Regions from separate parts of the Homo sapiens genome. Here region 1 is linked to region 2. The links are contacts of gene promoters, found by promoter capture Hi-C in human tissues and cell types (Jung and others, 2019). All regions are on one chromosome and are shown on one strand. Each heading gives the region's core, a stretch centred on a gene start or on the middle of the fragment in contact. The rest is flanking DNA. Distances are from core to core; before and after follow the strand shown.

Region 1 (4,897 bases), core at 39-2,538, 490 kb before region 2:
GCCCTTCTAGACAATGGCTTAGGCAAAGACTTCATGACCAAGAACCCAAAAGCAAATGCAACAAAAACAAAGATAAATAGATGAGACTTAAACTTAAGTCTGCACAGCAAAAGAAATAATCAGCAGAGTATACAGACAACCCACAGAGTGGGAGAAAATCTTCGTAATTTATACATCTGATAAAGGACTAATATCCAGAATCTACAAGGAACTCAAACAAATTAGCAAGAAAAAAACAATCCCATCAGAAGTAGACTAAGGACAGGAATAGATAGTTCTCAAAAGAAGATATACAAATGGCCAACAAACATATGAAAAAATGCTCGACATTACTAATGATCAGGGAAATGCAAATCAAAACCACAATGTGATACCACCTTGCTCCTGCAAGAATGGCCATAATGAAAAAGTTTTTAAATAGATGTTGGCAGAGATGTGGCGAAAAGGGAACGAACACTTTCATACAGCTGGTGGGAATGTAAACTAGTACAACCACTATGGAAAACAGTGTGGAGATTTCTTAAAGAACTAAAAGTAGAACTACCATTTGATCCAGTAATCCCACTACTGGGTATCTACCCAGAGGAAAAGAAGTCATTACATGAAAAAGATAATTGCATACACATTTACAGCAGGACAATTTGCAATTGAAAAAATACTGAACCAGCCCAAATGCCCATGCCCATTAATCAACGAGTGGATAAAGAAATTGTGGTTTATATATACCGTGGAATACCACTCAGCCATAAAAAGGAAAGAAAGAATGACATTCTCAGCAACGTGGATGGAACTGGAGACCGTTATTCTAAGTGAGGTAACTCAGGAATGGAAAACCAAACATTGTATGTTCTCACTCATAAGTGGGAGCTAAGCTATGAGAATGCAAAGGCTTAAGAATGATACAATGGACTTTGAGGACTCGGGGGAGGGGGTGGAGGAGGAAAGGATGAGAGGGGTGTGAGAGATAAAAGACTACAAACTGGGTACAGTGTACACTGCTTGGGTGATGGGTGCACCAAAATCTCAGTAATCACCACTAAAGAACTTATTCATGTAACCAAACACCACCTGTTCCCCCAAAACCAATGGAAATCAAAAATTAAAAATTTAAAAAACTTAAAAAAGAAAATATTATTGTACTTCTATATAATGTTTGTGTTTTAAGCTGTTATTACAAAAGAGTCAAAAGGTTAAAAAATAATTTAAAAGTCTATAAGGTAAAAAAGTTATAGTAAGCTAAGGTTAATTTATTATTGAGAGAAAAGTTTTAAACAAATTTAGTGTAGCCTAAGTGTACAGTGTTCATAAAGTCTACAGTAGTGTACAGTAATGTCACATTCACTCACCAGACACTCACTGACTCACCCAGAGCAAATTCCAATCCGGCAAGCTCCATTCATGGTAAATGCCCTATACAGCTATACTATTTCTTACCTTTTTTAAATATCATATTTTTACTGTACCTTCTCTTCTTCTCTATCTGTTTAGATACATAAATACTTATCATTGTGTTCCAATCACCTACAGTAGTCAGTACAGTAACATGCTGTACAGGTTTATAGCCTGGGAGTAATAGGCCATATACCATATACCCTAGGCATGTGGTGGGCTATACCATGTAGGTTTGTGTAAATACACTCTATGATGTTCATACAATGACAAAATTGCCCAACCACACATTTCTCAGAATGTGTCACATTGTAAAGCGACACAACTGGATATAATTTTGCATGTACATATCTAACTAGAAGAGCCAAAATGCTACCCAACTTTTGATTACATTATTTGGCATGATGAGAAATAATGACTGGCTATGTCTCTTTAAAAAATGTTCAACTTTCAAGCCAAAAAAATAAACTAAGCAAAAAAGGTGAGCAAAAACAATTTTAAAAGAGAGAATGAATGGGCTTCCTTACTTCCTCCTTGCCTTCCATTGTTTTCTCTCTTTGAGATTCCTCTTGGCTGAGTATCGGAAGATTTCATACATTTCTTAGCTCTGGATGACTTATAATTCTAAATATGAAAGTGTCAATGTTACATTTTAATTTTAGAATTCCTAACCATCAAAGTCAGGTGATGCTCACACAAGTTAAGAGGCCAAAACAACCTGGAAAGCACTGAATCCAACCCCTTCATTTTACAGAAGAAATATAGGCCCAGGAAGACTAACTATCTTGCCCAGTCAGAAGCAGAGTAAGAATAAACCGGAAGCCAGGCATTTTCAGGCCTTTTCACCTCACATCTGGGCACCATAACCTCATGCCCCAACCCTCTCTTAAGAGGGCAGGATGAAAGAAGACGGCAGAAAGAGGCTCAGATAGTCCCTCCAGCCACAGCTAGTCAAGGCTGGACACGCTCATGGTTTCCCAAGGAGGAGATGGAGAGGGATCAAAGTGTGGTGTGACTTCCCCCTCAGAAGCATTTTACGTAGAAGACCACAGACATCCACCCAGAAAATAATAAATATGTTACATGGATGAGACTTCTTTGAATATAGCACCTGAAACCTCACAGATGTAACACACTTCCTTCCAGTCTCTTTTTGTTCTGGAAAGTTCTGGGGCTTATATCACTGAGCTGCGCTAAGGCCAAGTGTACATGATTACAACAAGCACCATGTAGGATTTCTTCATTTCTTTCCGTCCTTCCTCCCTTCCTCTCTGCTGTTCCTTCTTTTATCCACCTGCCTTTCATTTCATTCCTTCATCTGGACAATTAGTTTTCTTATTTAATCATGTTGCCTTTTCACCCTGGCTTCCAGAAAGCTCTAAGTAAACTTTTAAATCAACCAATAGCAACCTTGCTAATCTTTTGATCGGCATAAATGTTGCCTATTTTCTTTTCCTTATAATAGAGCCCATTTGCTGCGGGGGTGGAAGCAGTAAAAAAAAAAACAAAACTATTTTTAAATCTGCTAGGAAGGAGGTAAGCATAAATAAAGTTCAATAAGTAATGAAAATGTTATAAATAAACCGCTTTGGGGTATCCAAAATATTTCCTTGGTTTTGTTGTAGGAAACCGTAGACAGGGCAAATATGACCACCCACCCCCGCCCCCCATCGACCTAGAGTATGGTTATTTGTACCTCCCTCCGCCCTCCAACGAGACCAAGGGAATCCTGATCAAGCCCCCTATGAGAACCTGGATCTTTATCCACATCCAGGGATCTCATCTGGGCTTTAGGCGTTTCTTAAACTCCTGAAACTATATGCAAAACTGTATGCAGGAATCTACCCTAGAACTATCACTTGTGAATCTTTCAGTCTTTTTGAAAATCTATATGAAGAATTTTAACTTATAGAGACTGTTGAACAGTGCTTGCCCCCCATTAAGGAAAAAAATGTGTATGTGGTTTGATCTTACTTTACTGAATTTCGTAAGATTCTCTTGAAGACCTCCAAAACATGATAATAACTTCTGAGCTACTTGAACATCAAAATTGAAATGAATGATTTCTTTGGATACTTCAAACTCTTCTATTTTACAAATTTAAAATATATATATTTCTACCAACTCAGCATGATGTGGAGTGGGAGGGTGAAGAGCGACTGAAAACGGCACATGCAGCATTTACCTTACTTCCAGGCGTCCTGGACTCCCCAGTAACATTTCCACAATACAGGCATGGCCCAGGCAGTGCTCTCAAATGATGTCTAGAGAGTCCCTGCAAGTCACCCAGCTCCCTTTTCTCTGTCCTCAGCCCATTCTCACCAACCACAGGGATCTTACACTCGGTGGCTGGCCCGGGGTGACTCACCACGTGCCCGCTGAGATCACGGACAAAGCCAGAGGCCTGCTGGCTCTGATAGTACTCAAGCTGCTTCTCCGCCAGTTCTACCCGCTGTAACAGATTCTCAATAAAGTCCTGGAGCCGGGCTTTCCCTTGAACCTCCTTCTCAGCTGCCGCTTCCAGGAAATGGTTGAATGTGACAACTTCTCTGCAAGGCAAAAATGTCAGAACACAAAAGGGAAATATAAGGCAAGGAATTCACTCATTCAACACATATTTATTGAGTGCCTACTATTTGTCAGTTAACACCCTAGGCAGTACTCCATGGCAATGACGAGAGAGGTAATCACCTCTTTGTGATTACATTTACAGACTGTATTTTAATAGAGGAAGATAGTCACTATAAAACAAACAAATAAATATATGTCAGATGGTCATAAGTGCTAAGAAAATTGAAACTGGGTGCAAGGGGACAGTGACAGAGGAAGGAAAGGAGTGAATAATATTTTAAAAAGCAAAGTTAGAAACGACCTTTTGAATGGGGTGACATTTGAACAGAGACCTGTGGAAGAAGCCATGCAGGTGTTTAGGAAGAGCAAACCAGGGACAGCAGATGGGTCTGAGGTACAGCAAGGGGGTCTACATGGAGGAGGGAGCTAGGTAGGACCTCACAGGTCACTGTGAGACTTCTGGTTTTATTACAAATGAGATGGGAAACCATTGGATGTATTGCTTTTAAGACAAGCTCTGACTTGGATTTTTAAAGTCTGGCGATTGGGAGAGAAAACTCTACAGGGAGAGAAAGTATAGGAGCAAGAGGCCGAGCTGAGCACCAAAACAGCACATCAAATGAGTCATCTTGTCCAACAGTATATTTTTTAGCTTAGAGCTTAGAACAAAACAGCCCATACAGCTACCACGAGGTCAACCCAAAGACCACCGGGAAAACTATTCTAATGCTGACATAAGAGAAGCAATGCATGGGTTGCCCTCCCCTAAGAAGCTGAGCAAAATACTTCAACTACTCCTTTATCTACATAATTCACAAGTAGATTACAAATCCAGAAAAATTCTAATAACTTTATTACCATCTTATATTTTGCTTTCATTTTTAATGGAAATATGAAAATAGTATTTTTTTCTGATTTATAAATAAGCTCTTTATTT
Region 2 (5,007 bases), core at 2,195-4,694:
TCAGTTACACATTGCAAATGGCAAATGCATCATTCAAAACTATTTAAAATCAATAATAAAAATCATTTAAATGTATATAAACAAGTTAATGGAATAAGTGAAAACAAAGCAAATTTCTTAATGAGAGGGCCCTGTTGCCCCCTCTAGGTGCCAGCAGTAAATGCTGGTTTCTGTAAGGCTCTCCTCCAGAGAAGACTGCTGCTGCTATTCTGCTAATGAATGACTAACTTAGGCCAGGGGGGAAATGACATCACCAGGGTGGAAAACCGATCTGCATTGGGAAACTTTCTACCTGCTTTACATTTGTCATAATTATTTTGCACAATGCAGTCTGCATTTGCATAATTTTGAGGCGTGTCATTATCTCAATTGAAAATTGTTTTAATATGGCTGAATAATTCACAATGACATCAGCCAAAGTCCTAATGAAATATACAAGTATAATCATACAGCTAATTACCAGCCGTGTTAGCATTAAAAAACAAATCATGCATAATATTAGACGATGTATATGCAGCTGAGGATTATAAATAGAGCCATCTCCCTCCGCAAACCCCCTAGAGTTTACTTTTAAATGGCAAGATTAATTTTCTCAGGTATGGCTCATATAGCAGTGACGAAATGCACAGATCATTACAATGGTTCCCTTTCAATTCCCCATAATGAACAATTAAAAAGAAATCGTGTATTTAAAAATATATCTATTCACTGTCAACACTTCTAGCAGATGCAACGTTTGGCAAATATAGCCTTTATTCTTAAATCAGAATTCACCATTTAATTACACCAACAAAAATTAAAACTGTACCAAGTGGGGTCAACTCAGGGTCTTTAAAAAACATCCCAATTTCAATTCCCCGCCCCCCAAAAAAGAGTGACCACAAAATATCCCATAAAACACTGAATAATTTCCTCCTGGACTTAGTCAGAAGTCTGTTAAGCACCAGTTCTTTTCTGGATATTTAATCCTTCCCTTTTCCAGATCACAGGCCATGTTGAAGTAATAAATTTGAAAAGCAAATAATAAGAAATCAGGAGGGGGAGAGGGAGGGGGAGGAAGACAGCTGCGCAGGAAAGTTGGGTCGGGGGAGGGGGCCGAGCCAGACCTTGGGAGGGGGAAAGAGCTCAACCTGTTGGTAGGTTGCAGGATTTTTCACAGTATTTCCAAACAACACCTTTTTAAAATTGCAGGCGGACGTCGGGAAATATGAACATTTAAAAACCAAAGCTGGCCGGGGAGGGTGGAGGGGGGAGGTGAGCGGGGAGGTGGGAGGGGCTTATTTCCGAAAAGGCAGATTCGAGGGCGAACGTTTCGACGAACTCCAGTAATTAACCGGCATAGACCACTGACGAGTAATTCGATCCTGGGGAGAGGGAGTGAACTAGCAATGCCAAAAGTACTATCAACTCGATCAAACCGAGGAATTCTGGAAGGACTGGCAGCTCCGAGCCCCGGGATGAGTTAAACGGGAAACCATTCATTTAACAAAAAGATCCTTAGATCCTTACACCTACCTCGAAAGCTCGAGAGCCTGGCACAGCACTAGCTGCCCTCAAAAGTCTGTTTGATTACCCTGCTCTCGCTTTGGCAACACAAAGCCTCGCCAGGCGGCAGTGCGCCCTCCCTCCCCGCTGCGCCGTGGGCACAGACTCCCCAAAATAGTTCCCCTCGGTAGGTACCACGGCGCTGAGGTCGGTCAGCTGAGGAGGGGAGCCCGCAGAACTGCGGTCACACATGAAATGACAGAGCCGAAGGGAGGCGGCCGCCCCGGCGCCCAGTGACAGCGGGCTCACCTCCGGCGTCCTCCCGGGAGCGCGGCGAGCGCCCCCGCGGCCGCCCAGAAACGTGCCGGGGAGGCTCTGTCCCCTCCCCGCCCTCCCCGGGAGCGCCGTCTGGGCACGGAGAACGCTGGACCCGCAGGGCCAGTGGGCGAGCACACACCCCTCTGCCCTCCCCTCCCCCGCCCCCGTCCCACACACCCCCAAAGATCGCGCAGGAGGACGTCCACTTTGCGTGGAGTAATTGCAAACTAGAACATCAAATGGCTTGTCCGGGGGGAGGGGGAGTGGGCGAGAGATAGTTGTTAATGCTTAACGTGTTTGTGCCTGTTACACCACCGCTTTGAAATCCGCCCGGGCAGATCTGCAAGTTATTTGAATGTATTATTCCAGTACCTGTCATTTATCACTTTATTCAACACGTCTTTGCCAACTCAATAGCTTTTGATCTCATTCTGCCTCCATTTCGTAATTTCCGCCCTCTTAAACATATCAAATACTTACTTTGAAAAAAGAACAATATCGAAACCCACCGAAAGAAATCCACCCAGACACGACCGAGCCAGACACGAAGGTAAATTTTCAAAAGGCAAAAAATATAAAAAGCATGTGATGTTCAAGAGGCAATAGCAGGAGAGCAAATGAACACACACACACACATACACACACACACACACACACACACACACATCCTTGAACAAAACCCTTCTCGAACAAGTTATTTGATCTTGACTAAAATCAGCAGTTGGATCCTCTTTGTAAAGCTGACAGCCAAACTCTGACAATGGCAAAATACTCGAGCCCCAGCTAGTGGCGCTACCCCTTTAAAAAAGGAGTCGATCCTGCTTGCCTGCAGAAGTGAATACAGTATTTTCAAGCTTGCCCTGTAATAAGCATTACTAGGGGGAAAAATAATAAAGAAAGAAGAGGGGGACAGACAGGTTTACCACCTCGCCATGGTCGCTATTTCTGCCCTGGGGAGTGTCTTCTGGGAGGAAATAAAGTTTAGAGCTGGATAAAAGTTGCCGGCTGGTCCTCTCTTCCCACAACAGCTGGAGCTCCGCTATGCAAATCGGATCCTTTGGCGTACATCTTACAAAGAAAAAGTCGCCAAGGGACAAAATTCTTGGTTTGCCTTCAAGGTGGAATTGAAAAGCCTTGTAGAAAATGTAAGGTCCGTGCAAGCCACACGGTGAGCCGACCCACTGCAGGGGGGGAAAAAAACACCAAATAAATAATGTAGCCATCAGAGCACAAACATCTATTCCCAGACACATTTACACACAGACATCCACTCTCTTAATACAGACGACCCAACAGATATAACGCTGGGTGGAAAAATAATAGCACCCACAAATTTTCTGCTTCCCTAAAAAAAAAAAAAAAAAAACTCAGGGCCCCCCACCGCCACTTCTACCCACCTCCCCATTTGAGGCGGTAAAATTACATTATGTATGTATGATCAGTGCAGGGATTTTTTTAAACAATAAAAATGATTTTGGGGGATGCAGAGGGTAAAAGTTTGGTGAAAAGTTTGTGGGGGGTGTGGGTGGGTGCAGAGGTGTGGGTGAGCTGGGGGGTTGGGGGGTGCCGGGGGGTGCCGGGATCGGAGGAGCGGAGGAGAGCGAAATACCTGGAGTGAGTTGGGCTCCATCTCGACGTTCTGAATTGATTGAACTCAACATTCTCTCCAAACTTGTTGGCTTGAATGGATTGCATCAGGTCCTGGCAGGGAAACGCATTCTCTGCCTTCAGCCGGCGTAATGTCTCAATATAAAACTGAGCTCTTGCCTCCCTTCGGGCACCGAAATGATTGAAAATATGTCCTAATATTTCTATAACGACTCAATTTTCAGCTCCTGAAAAAACTATGTGGGTTTTCTTCCAAAGATGGATTGATCAAATTCATAATCGAGAGAAAGGCGCCATACGATCTCGGCGGGAAGAGGATGGATCAAGGCAAAAAACACACAAGAAGATTTGTAAAAATAAAAAGCACCCTAAAACTGTGTGGAGATGTGATTCCTCTCTCTCTAACCGCTCCTGTCTGGGATATCGTCTGATGAGATTTTTGGAGGAGAGGAGGGGTAGCGAGCTCCACTGTGCATCTGACAGGACCTGCTTGTATATGTCTAATATAAAGAACATTTCCTGCAGAGATTCCGGGGCGCTGCTCCTCTTTCTAATGCTTCTTAGCAGATTTGCTGTTATTAGACATGTAGATTTGTTTGATAGTTAAATTACGCTTCCTCACTGCCATGTTTTCGAGAACTAATCTGTTAAATTATCTTTTGATGCCTATTTACATGGAAGGGAAAAGTGGGTTATCGATTATATAAACATATAAATATTAATGCATTTGTTCGCTTCGCAAAAAAATACTCAGCAAAAAAAAAAGAGACAAGTGAGCAGTGCACACACATCTTAGGATTTCGCAAACAATATTGAACGGACAGCGACTGCATTTAGGGACTGGAACAATAAACGATGCATGATAAATCAATAAATGCGAGAAGCGAGTCTGCTCAGAATATGAATTCAGGCTCCCGGTTCTGCGTGTGCATTCTTTAATTTTGAAGTATATACACTAGTACGTGTTTACAATGCTGATGGACGCCAAGGGCGCTCTCAAATGATAATGTGTTTATATAACCCAGCGCTACAGGAATAATATACCGACTCCTACCCCACCCCCATCCCCTCCCCCGCCAAAAAAGGGAGGGGAGCTTCCTCAATAATAGTTTGAAACTGAAAAAATCCATTTGCAAACTAGTTAAATACAACCAGAAATTAAGCTGTTGAAAACCGGGGGCATGAACCGTAAGACAATAAAGGCTTTAAATGTGTATATTTATTGTTCTGGAGCCCTGGAGCATTGCGAGGTTTGCATGCACGGCTATTATGCAAACACAGAGAAACTTAAGAGCGACAGAACAAGGAACAGGCAGAGACTGCAAAGCCCTCGCAAGCTCCGACCCAGCTGCCGGTCCTCCGCCAGGCTAGATTGCATTTTCGCAGTGTTGATTTAAAATGGTGTACTCGCTTCCCCCACGTTCCCCCACCCCCTTCCCCGCTCTCCTCCCACTCCTTCCAGCACACCCCCCCTCCAGCTTTTATTATATTGGCACCAATCTTTCCAAAGTGGGTCTGGCATGCTAAAAAAGTAAACATGTACTATATGGGGAATAAGGTCTGTATAGTATGACAGTTGAAACTTGATCTGTGATA

The links. Contacts are between HindIII fragments. The study calls those that stand out against the background at their distance.
Region 1: a fragment that was not itself captured here is called in contact with the fragment with the promoter of ARID5B in region 2 in 1 of the 25 tissues and cell types used here (dorsolateral prefrontal cortex).

What each region holds. Positions count from the first base shown.
Region 1 is chr10:62,387,437-62,392,333 of GRCh38, reverse strand. ZNF365 (zinc finger protein 365) reads right to left here. Exons shown (of 5, transcript NM_014951.3): 3 at 3,758-3,938. Among named protein-coding and RNA genes, the nearest start is that of ZNF365, 16 kb to the right of the region's middle. The HindIII fragment of the contact is 3,941 bases long and covers 1-3,258 here.
Region 2 is chr10:61,900,136-61,905,142 of GRCh38, reverse strand. ARID5B (AT-rich interaction domain 5B) reads right to left here and starts at 3,444. Exons shown (of 10, transcript NM_032199.3): 1 at 3,413-3,444; 2 at 2,730-2,984. The coding sequence starts at 3,433. RefSeq lists silencers at 1,693-2,012, 4,753-4,922 and an enhancer at 3,252-3,754. The HindIII fragment of the contact is 5,601 bases long and covers 649-5,007 here.